2 separate regions of the Homo sapiens genome follow, and region 1 is linked to region 2. The links are contacts of gene promoters, found by promoter capture Hi-C in blood cells and fetal thymus (Javierre and others, 2016). All regions are on one chromosome and are shown on one strand. Each heading gives the region's core, a stretch centred on a gene start or on the middle of the fragment in contact. The rest is flanking DNA. Distances are from core to core; before and after follow the strand shown. Region 1 holds the start of PICALM (phosphatidylinositol binding clathrin assembly protein). Region 2 holds the start of PRCP (prolylcarboxypeptidase).

Region 1 (5,441 bases), core at 1,523-4,022, 3.2 Mb after region 2:
TCCCTGTATTTTAAAACCTCATTGAAAAGAAACAGAAGCACATTAACGACACATATATTTTTAAATCAAATACTACCAGGTATATTCAAGTTCCAAAAACGTGGGAGCTTGTAAACACAGAAGTGGTAGAGAAAAAGAACGACAAATGCAAGATTATCCTCCAAACCTAATCCCAGTTACCATCTATCTGCAGTAGTGGCTATAACAAGAGAAATAGCTAATAACATTTATGAAACAACATGCAAATAGCACTCTTCTAACCCTACCTATTTTCTCCTCTTTTTGACAATGCTTTAAAAGAACCACTGCTACATTTGAAATAAGACACAAACCTTTACAAAAAAAACTTTTAAAAGCCTTATCGATTCTTATTTTGAATGAGGAAAGAGGAAAATAGTTCACACAGTCACAACTAGTTTCTTCATACTCCCATACAAAAAAAAAAAACAAAAAAAAACCAAAAGCAACTAACAAAAGAATTAACACAGTGTCAGGACAAACTGTAAGATTTGGTAGGGCAAACCAAGTAGTATTTGAAGAGCCGTAAATAGCAGAAACGTCTACTACACGTATCAGATAATCAAAAAATCACATATGGCTTTACGATGCATTTTAAAAAGTTTTCTGTTCATAAGAGTGTCACCATTTAAACATATTCTCCATTCTCTAAGACAAGCAAGGACTGAGAGTTTAAAAGCAGCCTGCATGCATATCTGAAAGAATCAAGCACTAATGCTTTTTTATTTAAAACTTTTTTCCACAGTGGAGGAACAATCACAAAGAATAATAGGCTTCTGTGTAGCAAAAACTTGTTCTAACAGCATTCATGAGCACAGTAACTTGGAAGAATCTACATTTCGTACATTTTTTTTAAAGTGCAAACTTTACGGCCAAAGTCCAAATGAGAAATCAAAACAGGCTTCCAGACAGTGAATTATCTTTCAGGGCATGCTCACTCTTGCTTCAAACAGTAAAACAAAGTAACTTTCATGTATGATGAAAGTCAGTCAGACTAATGTGTCCAGTCATTTAAAAAGGGAACTTACTTATCGTGACTATTGCCCTATTTTTCCCTGAAAAGTTTCAGGTCTAAGCTCCATTGGCTTGAGTGATCCAATGAGCTTTGTACCCTGGGGTAAAAGAGCGCAAAGAAAAAGGAGGGTATTACAGGTGACTTCCAGGTTAGAAAAAAGTTACGAGGAGTTAGCTCTACTAATTGTATCTACGTTAGCGAATGGACGAATACTATGTCGTGTAAGAGAAGCTAAAGCTAGTTCCTCAAAAGGTAACTGGCATAATTAAAACATCCAAACTCAAGCATCATCAAACATCATTTTGCCAATTTTTTTAAGGGATGTATGTTATTTGTAAGTAAATTTATTAATCCATTTGGAATTCCAACAGTCTACGCTTAACACTCAAGCTTCTGAATTCAAGCCGCCAGAATTAACAGTTCCAGGAACTGATAAGAGTATCAGCAAAATGCCTTTTTCCATATCCCCATGTGAAAAGCTGGGGGGCAGAGCTGACAGTCACAAACTCACCCCAGTCAAAAGTATGGACAACACAACGATTAAATTCCACCAGAGGCAAATAAAAATCCCAACTTTCCAGAAAGCTTTCCCTACACCAAATTGAATCCTTTTACTTTCACTCCCACAAAGAAGGTAATCTGAAATAAAAGTCGGGTAACTGGGTATGGTATTTAAAATGAGTCGAAGAAACTACACTGAAGCTACTATAGAGGCGATGAAAAGGTAACCCAAAAGCAGGAGGGAAGGTGGAACAGAAAGCCAGGAAGGGATGGGCGAAGCAGCTAGTGGAGCAAAGGAAGTGGGGGATCCCTTCCAGGGAGGCAGCCCGGAGGGATAACAAGGATCTGGATGCAAGGAACCAGGCGTTTACTGAAACCCGAAGGAGGCTGATGAAGAAACAATGGGGCTTGGAGACGCTCAGACGAGGGCGACGAGGCGGCACCGGACGGGTGGGAAGGAAGAGCAGAAGGCTGCAGTGGAGACGGGTAGGGGGTGAGAAGCCAGGTGGGGAAGCAAGTTGGTTGGGTATGATGGGGTGTGGTAGCGCACCGGGCAGGGAGACGAGGGTCCCCTAGGAATAGGGAGGGGAGTGGCTTGTCAGATTTTGAGACGGGGAGCGGAGGCCGTGAAGGCAGGTGTGATGGAAGCAAAAGAACACAGCTCAACGGGCACAGGACCGGCCGTGCCAGAGAAGACGCAGGGAGGGAAGAGGCAGTAGAAGGGTGAAAGACAAGAGAGAGAGAGAAGGACGCGCGCGGGTCGCGCGGGCGCCGGGGAGCGGGGGCCGCGGTCGGCTTCACTCACAGTCCAGGTGCTTTTTCTTGGGCCCCATGATCTCGTGGGTCGTGGCCTTGCATACTGTCTTGGATACGGCAGAGCCGGTGACACTGTGCTGGGCGGCAGTGATTCGGTCCGTCAGGCTCTGGCCGGACATCTCTGCAGCTCCTCCACCACCCCACCCGCTCAGCAGCCGGCGGGGACTGGGACCCCCAAGAGCCGGAGGGTCCCCACCCCCCACCGCACCCCCTACCCCCACCGGCTCCTTCCCCGCCTGCCGGCCTGGGGCGCGGTTCGGGGCCGCGCGCTGCCACCAGTCCAGAGAGAACCGGCTCGTGTCACCCGCGGAGTCGGACAAGATGTCGGGCACTCCCTTGCCCCCGCCTCAGTTCAGCCCACCCCTTCCCGGGTCAGCTGGAGCCGGGCAGGGTAAGAGGAACAGGCAGCTGCAGGAAAATGGCGGCGCCAGGCTCCTCCTCGGAGCTTTCCGGGCTGCCCCGGGTCACGTGACTCGGACACCGCCCCTCCTCCCTTCTCCCGCCCCTTTCCCCTTCCCTTTCCTCTTCGACGCCCGCCCTCCCTCGCTCAGCGAGGGAAGAGCTGGGCGGCGCCCGCGCGTTACGTGATGGAACTCGCCAGGCGGGCGCAACAGGAGGCCCGCCCGAGGGGAGTGCACAGCCGGCGCATCACGTGACTCTCCCTGCCAACAGGTCGCCTGAGGCTCGGCCCGCGGGGTCACAGACGCCGGGCGGGGCGGGGCGGGAGAGGAATGGCGAGGGCGGTGTGCTGGCGGGGGTGGGGCGGGGCGGCAGGCTTCTCCCCTTATCCCCCCACCTCAAGTGTGTCCTCGTGTCTGTGGTTGAAACCAACAGCTTGACAAAGGAGGTGCAGCTGCCTTCACAGCTTCCCCTGAAGTGGGGGGTATTAGGCCTCTGGCTCCCCGAGCTTTCCCAGCAGAGTCAAGAATGTATTTCAAGACGCCTCCCAAAGCCGCCCTCCTGGCTTAAAGGAGAAGGTTCCAAACGGCCTATTTTCTGAACCTTCCAGCAGGCCTCTCTCTACCATGGAACTATTGAAGCTCTCCTTATTTACTTACCCCAGAAAGGTTTTTTCCCCCCTTTCCTTGAGAGGCTTGGAAATGTCACCTGGTTTTGTTTATCTCTACTCCGAAAACCCGACACGTTGCTGCCATTCTAAATTTAGATACTAGCTGGCCGGTATTCATTCTCTAGGGTGTGGAATAGGACAGGAAACACATAGCTTCACTGGAATTTGAAAAGGGAAGTAGTAGGATGATGTCAACAGCGATTAGCTTGACCCTACATGGCTGACTGCTGTGGTGATTAAAGGTCCAGACCATAGAAGGAAGTGAGAGGGGCGGTAAATGGAGAAGTCCCATTCAAACAGTCCAGACATCACTGCCTGCCATCTCCCCTGGTTTAGTCTTTCTTACCTTTGGCCTCTTTTCTCTTATTGGGTGAGCCAGATTTCCATGGAAAGACGTTGACACTGCCCTGTGGACATTTTAAAAGAAGTATTACATCCTGAAATACTATTCAATGAGACCCAGACCATACATTAACAAAGCCTTTTATATGTTATTAGAGCCTCTACATTCAACCCAGGGTTAGGGATAAGTTGAAAAATATGTGAGTGCTAAGTTACCATGATAGTCACATGTAATCTTGCTAGTTTCAAATGAAATGCTAACATTCTCAGAAAGTCTGTGTACACCATCTGCCAGCCAAATCCAAAATACTGTGCTTCAATCTGGTGACTCTCAAAGGATGCAAAGCTGATAGATATTTAACATTTTATGTATCATATCAGGAATTTTGTGGTCTCCCATTTTCCCCACGCCCCCTCACCCCTCTTTTTTCCCCACTATGGCTGGTGAAATTCTGCAGCAACATGCTCTTGCCAAGAACACACAAGTTTTTAATCCCAGCAGGCTTCATCTTTGTCAAGCCAGCCTCCAATTTCACAAAACTATAATGAATTCCTTCAGTGTACTGCAATCCATCTGTGGTTTGGTGCCCAGTTTGCTGCCCCACGTCCACTGGGCAGTGGAATTACCAAATTCTCAAGACATGTTATCAGCCATCATTGCTACTGGTCTATGGGTTCCACTGTATAAGTTACTGATTGGCCTGAGCCTCTGCATTGGTAAACCCCAATCTGAGGTCAACACTAACATGGTCTAGCTATCAACAGCTGAATATTTTATCCTTAGGGAAAATGCCAGTCATTCCTAAGTACATAACAGGAAAGTATTACACTATTACTTTTACCAAAGAGGTTCTTTCAGACCACTTTTGTGACAATAATTGTTGACATGTTTACCCTATTAACAAACAAGCTGCTGTTAGAAATATTTTATTTTTTTCCAAGTATACATAGTAGAATTTCTAACTATGTAAATAATCAGTAATCATTGAAGAGGTTTATGTGTGGTTGTGAACTGAAATATATGGAGAAATTTAAAAGAAGATGGGGAATTGTTCTAAGGGTAGACATTACTGACCTATGTTGTCTTATATGCTTAAGTTTTCTGTGTCAGTTTCCTTGGTCTATTCAGGAAATATCTCTACCTGAAGTTCCACAGATGCCAACTCACCATGGCCAATACTGAACTTCTCTTGCCCTTGCCCAGCATCCTACATCTTTAATCCATACTGTTCCCTATATCCGTTAATGGCCTCACCACATGTCCAGAAGCTCCGCTCAGAAAGCTGTGATTCTGAGTTCTCCTTCTGTCTTATTTCCCTCATCAAGCCTAATCTACTTTTATCTCTCAAACACATCCCATCTCTAACCCCACTTCTGTTGCCTTAGTTCCAGCCTTTATGATCTCTGTTATACTAGACTGTTTTAGTAACTTCTTAGCTGATTCTCTGTCTTTTATACCCTGACTCTCCAATTCAGATCCTTCTGAAACCAAAATGTGATTGTCTTTTCTTTGCATTAAAATCTTCCAGTAACTCCCCCATCGCTACCCTAAAGGATGAAATTAAGAACTCTCAACCTGGCATACATGGTTCTTCATGATCTGGCCTCATTTTAGAAGTTTCTAAGTATGTAAATAATCAGTGACCATTGTAGAGGTTTATGTGTAATTGTGAAATGAAA
Region 2 (5,103 bases), core at 2,604-5,103:
GCTAAGGCAGGGGAATCACTTGAACCCAGGAGGCAGATGTTGCAGTGAGCCGAGATCTCACCACTGCACCCCAGCCTGGGCAACAGAGCGAGACTCCAACTCAAAAAAAAAAAAAAAAAAAAAAAAGACTGACTTCCCCTAAGCAAGAAGAAATTCTGCCAGCAGAATGCCTGGGCATCCAAACTGCAACTCTTCCCTGGGTTTCCAGCCTCCAACCTACCCTGAAGATTTTGGACTTACTAAGCCTCCACAATTGCATGAGCCAATTCCTTAATAAAAATCTCTCTCATAGAGAGAGAAACACACAGACACACACCCTAATACAATAGATATTGCTCCCAATTTTACCACTGAGAAAAATGATGGCCTGACAGGACCCATTCTCCCTCTTCACTACATCACACACTAAAATGTGTGATTTGGGACTCACATTCTAGCCTGAGGGGCTCAGGTGGGAGGTACAAGGTAATAAGCATGCAACATTGTAACCACAAGCCACATATTCCAGAGAGCCCTTTATGACACTGATACCACACATACTACACATGTACCCAGAGCCTCGATGTGCCCAAGTGATGTACTATCCTCTCTCTGGTCTCCTAATTCAGTTATTTCAGGTAAAAGAAATCAAATAGTCCTACCTAACTCAATATTTGAAGACCTTGAAAAAGGAGGAAAAAATAATTAGTAAAGAATTAAAGTAAAAGATAAAAAGAAAAATAAAAAATGATTTGTGACAATTAAATGATGGTAGCCTTTGCTTTGTTTAGGTTCTTTTTGAATAATCATGCATTCACTCTTTCAACAACTATTTATTTTGTGCTTTATACTTTTTTATAGGCTCTTCTAGGTATTGTAGAGTACTAACGAGCTGGAGGGACACATACAATATAGTAAATGTGCAGGATGAAAAAAGACCAACTAAATTTCCTTAAAGAAGTCAAAGATTCGCAGAAGAGGTGAGACATTTCTGCTGGAATAGAATTATGAGTTTAAATAGTGGGGAAGAGGGATGGTATTCCAGACAGAATTTCTGACACAGTAAAAGTCACTTGAGTCTGTTAGGTTGCTAAAAGTGGGAGCTGGGATGGGGAATTATGGCAGAATATAAAGTTGGAACGACCAGCTAGGGTTACATAGTAAGGAACAATGGATTCCCATGCCAAGGTGTTTGGCCTTTATCCTGCAATCAGAGTTATGAAGAATTTCTAAGCAGGGGAGGGATAAGACCATGGGCTAAGCCTTCTTAGAGACCACTCCATAAAACCACATCCTTTATATACATAGAAGGACAGCTGGGTCCAGCTTGGTCACTGGGGCAGATATAACCACAGGTAAATCATTATAAAGTTTAATAAAAATTAAACCTTGAATAAAAAACTAAGCCTTACAGTTTTAATAATAAGTTTATTACTAGAAGGCATCAAAGTATTTCATGTGCTCTAACTTAAAAACTTAAAGTTGAGTTCACACATAGTCCTAACTAAAAATCAATGGTTCAGAAATTGGCAACTAGTATAATTATAATTATGCAATAAATACATATGTAAAAGTTTTCCTCAGAAAATGAAATAAAACTCAATTGGAATAGACAGAAGAAAAATTATTATTATGGTAATAAATACATACGTGGAATCTGTATCCTAAAATATAAATTAAATATAAGCCAGTGGACAAAATGTGGCTGAGTAAAGCTGGACTTTGCATATCATCAAAAATGGAAAAAGAAACAGTGTTGAATTATATTTCTAAGGAGTGTAGTGGCCAAGAAAAGAATCTACAATAAAGGAACATAAATTAGGAACTAAGGTACTAACAACTCATTTGTTCCCTTCCTCTTTTCTGCTGATAGTTCTCTTTTTCATCAATCCCAATGGGATTTTAGAGATCTCCCAATCCAATAGTCCTCCCCACCGTTTTACTTTAGCAGTTGAGTTCTGCAAATAGTTGTATATAAAATCCCAGCATATAAAACAGGTAAAAGCTGAAAGAGATCCAAGAGAGGGTACTAGAGCACCTAATTTGGCCTCCACTTCAGCCTTCATCCACTTTCCCTCTGAAACAGCTCCCCAAAGAGCCCTTAATTTTCCTCAGTAAAGTGTAAAACACATTGGTCCTTGTCCCAACCCTCCTAATTTACAAATGAGGGAATTATGCCCTAGAGAATTAATTTAAGGGAGTTGCCTGAGAAAAAAGATTATTTCCTAGTACCCCTGCTAAAATTAAAATGTTTTCTCTTCCTCATAAACTTGAACTCAAATGTCTGGGTTAAAAATTGTTTCTTGGCTGGGGACACAGTGGCACACGCCTGCAATCCCAGCCCTTTGGGAGGCCAAGACAGGGGCATCGCTTGAGCCCAGGAGTTCAAGACCAGCCTAGGCAAGATGACAAAATCCCATCTCTATTTTTAAAAATAAAAAAATTTTTAAATTATTTCTAAGTTATTCTGGAAGTCTATGACATCCCTCTACCACAAATTCCCATTCCAAATTCACATAAGGGCTGGGCTCAGTGGCTCACACCTGTAATCCCAACACTTTGGGAGGCTGATGCAGAAGGATTATTGAGCCCACAAGTTCAAGACTAGCCTGGGCAACATAGTGAGCCTTGTCTCTGCACAATTAACAACAACAAAATTTCACATAGGTCTATAACCACATATTATATGAGTGCCTACTTGAAGCCAGATACTCTGCTAAGAGTACGTTATCTGCTCTCATTCAACCATCACCACAAACCCCAAGAGATCAAGGAACTAGGCTCACAGAAGTACTGTAACCTGCCCAAGGTCACAGAGCTAGCAGGGTGGAATCCGGTTCTATCTGACTCCTAAAGCCAAGCTTCAGACCCTTGCACTCTTTCTAATCCCAACCTTTTCCAAATCTTTTCCTATTTTTACACAGGCTTTCAGAAATGCTGAACTGTAAGGATTACTTGTCATTTCACAGAGGATGTACTTTTCCATCAAGACCTGTGGGGGAATGCCTCATGCTGCAGCCAAGCACAAAGGCATCAAGCCCAAAAACCTCTAATTTCACGTTACAGACCATAGAAAGGCTAATCCCCACCCCCACCACAAACTCCTACAACTCCTTTTACAAGCATAGGCTACATACATTCAGTCTTATGGGGAATAGGGACTGTCAACAATTCTTAATAATAGGGCTACAAAATCAGCTCTGAGCTGACCCCTTCTGAGAGGCTGGCTTTTAGGATGGATAACTATCCAATATTTTCTAATAGGTAAAGATATTAAAATTTGTATTTAGGGCTGCCTTGGGGCAAAGGATGACTATCACCGCAGACTAGGTACCAGAGCTGGCATTTAATAATTTGAATTTGAGGGAAGGTCAAGGGAGTTCGGATTGGGGCACCCTCTGGGAGCAGAGGGAGTTGAAGTGACTGTCGTGTCCAATTACAGAAAAGCCTGAATCAAGAGTATGCAGCCAAAACTACTACCAAATTATTGGTAATGGGAGGAGAAAATTTAAACAGAACTGGGATTTGGGACCACCTTCTGGAAGATGTTAGCCAAAAACCGAACAGATCCTAGGCATCAAGGGGTGTGAATTTCGAGGTAGGCTCCGTTGCCCGGGCTCTGAGGGTCAGGGTTCCCGGCGGTTGGGCCTGGGACGGCGAAGCCCCCGCTCCCCCTTACCTTCTGTTGGAAGTAGAGAACCGAATAGTTCTTGGCTACAGCCGGGAGGGATGTGGGGTTGGTTGGCAAGTGTAGGCTGCCGAGGGCCCTTAAGGCCGGCCGGAGGGCTATGGTGGCCCAGGGCGCCAGAAAAGACAGAAGCAGGAGCAGGAGGGCTCGGCGGCCCATGGCTCAGGCTGGAGACTGCAGTGCGGGTGGGAGGGCGAAAAGGAGGCCAGCAGAAGCGCACAGGCTAAGCCCTGCCCAGCCTGCAGCTCCGCCCGCCGCAAAACAGCTCCTCCCAGGGGAAACCCAAAGCCAGCCAGCTCCTCAGAGACGCCGCCCAAGCCAGGTCACCACAGCCACTCCGCCCCCATCCCCGAGGACACCGCCTCCACTCCACTTTCCTCTCGTGCCATCTGCTCCTTAGCACTCACCTTCATTGCGGTCACACCCCAAGTCTGCCCTTATCATGCTAGGGCCTCTTCCTAACTCATCGCTGTAGCCCATGCTTTATCTATAGCGCCCCCGAAGCCCACCTGTCCTTCAGGTCACCCAATATCCCTACCATTATCATCACCACCAAACCCTGCCCTGGCCACCGCAATTCCATTGCGACACCTCCTGCCTTCCGCAAATCCTACGTAACGGCAATAACAGCTACCATGACAATTTATTGAAGGTTCACTACAGGCCAGTGTATCACGAGGCAGGGAGGCACACGCATCATCTCCTCTAACTAAATCGTCACAGCAATCTTGTGCGTCGTATATGATTGTTATTCCCATCTACAGATGTGGAAACTGAGGCTCAGAGAGGTGCGGGAACTTGCACTAGATCACTCAGCAGTGAGCGGAGCACGTCGTCGCAGACCGCTGGGTCCAGGTCCAAAGACTGTGCTCCTTGCACCCACCTCCATCTGGAGCCTAACCACTCCCTATGATACTCCGTTCTTGGGTCACCCCAAAACTGTGTTGCTCGCACAACCCATCCATTACACAGGTCGCCCCGGGTCCACATCGCCCCTAAATCCCGCCAGGTCCCGGTCCCTTCTTTCAAATAACGCCCCCTTTCTTCTCCGGCACCCGAAAACCCACTCCGCGCTCCACCCCCCTCCTGCCTCCTGCCACCGCCCCCTTCCTCCCTCCGCCCGTGGGTAGTGCTAGCCCCTAGGACAGCGCCGGGTCTGGCTTCCAAAGCTCCCTCAACCCTCTTCATCCAGCTTCCATTCCCTCTTTCAGTCACCCCGCCAGACCCCAGGGCGCTGCGGCTCACTCCACACTTTCCCGGGAACCCTACGCCCAGGAGGCTCAGCGAAGCTCCAAAACCAATTTTACGGACTGTACTACTGATCCACCTGTCGGGGAGAAAGACTCTACCCGCAGTTTGACGAAAATGGTCGTTTCCAGATGCTTGTAGGATTTCCTCGCTAAGCTCCACCCTCTGCGGCGCCTTCTTCTGATTGG

What was found. The method cuts DNA at HindIII sites, captures the fragments that hold promoters and counts their contacts. A CHiCAGO score of 5 or more calls a contact.
Region 1: a contact is called between the fragment with the promoter of PICALM here and the fragment with the promoter of PRCP in region 2, in 1 of 17 cell types (non-activated CD4 T cells). The highest score is 7.2, in non-activated CD4 T cells.

What each region holds. Positions count from the first base shown.
Region 1 is chr11:86,066,312-86,071,752 of GRCh38, forward strand. PICALM (phosphatidylinositol binding clathrin assembly protein) reads right to left here and starts at 2,773. Exons shown (of 20, transcript NM_007166.4): 1 at 2,340-2,773. The coding sequence starts at 2,469. It overlaps LOC124902731 (a long non-coding RNA gene), which reads left to right and starts at 3,613. Exons shown (of 2, transcript XR_007062823.1): 1 at 3,613-5,386. RefSeq lists enhancers at 1,419-2,121, 2,122-2,823, 2,563-3,762 and silencers at 2,388-2,437, 2,508-2,557, 2,698-2,867, 3,018-3,287. The HindIII fragment of the contact is 7,123 bases long and covers 1,617-5,441 here.
Region 2 is chr11:82,896,577-82,901,679 of GRCh38, forward strand. It overlaps PRCP (prolylcarboxypeptidase), which reads right to left and starts at 3,854. Exons shown (of 9, transcript NM_005040.4): 1 at 3,659-3,854. The coding sequence starts at 3,826. It overlaps LOC124902602, which reads right to left. Exons shown (of 2, transcript XM_047427953.1): 2 at 4,338-5,103. The coding sequence ends at 4,448. RefSeq lists enhancers at 3,580-3,629, 3,750-3,809, 3,960-4,059, 4,340-4,389 and silencers at 4,600-4,649, 4,700-4,789. The HindIII fragment of the contact is 4,585 bases long and covers 2,839-5,103 here.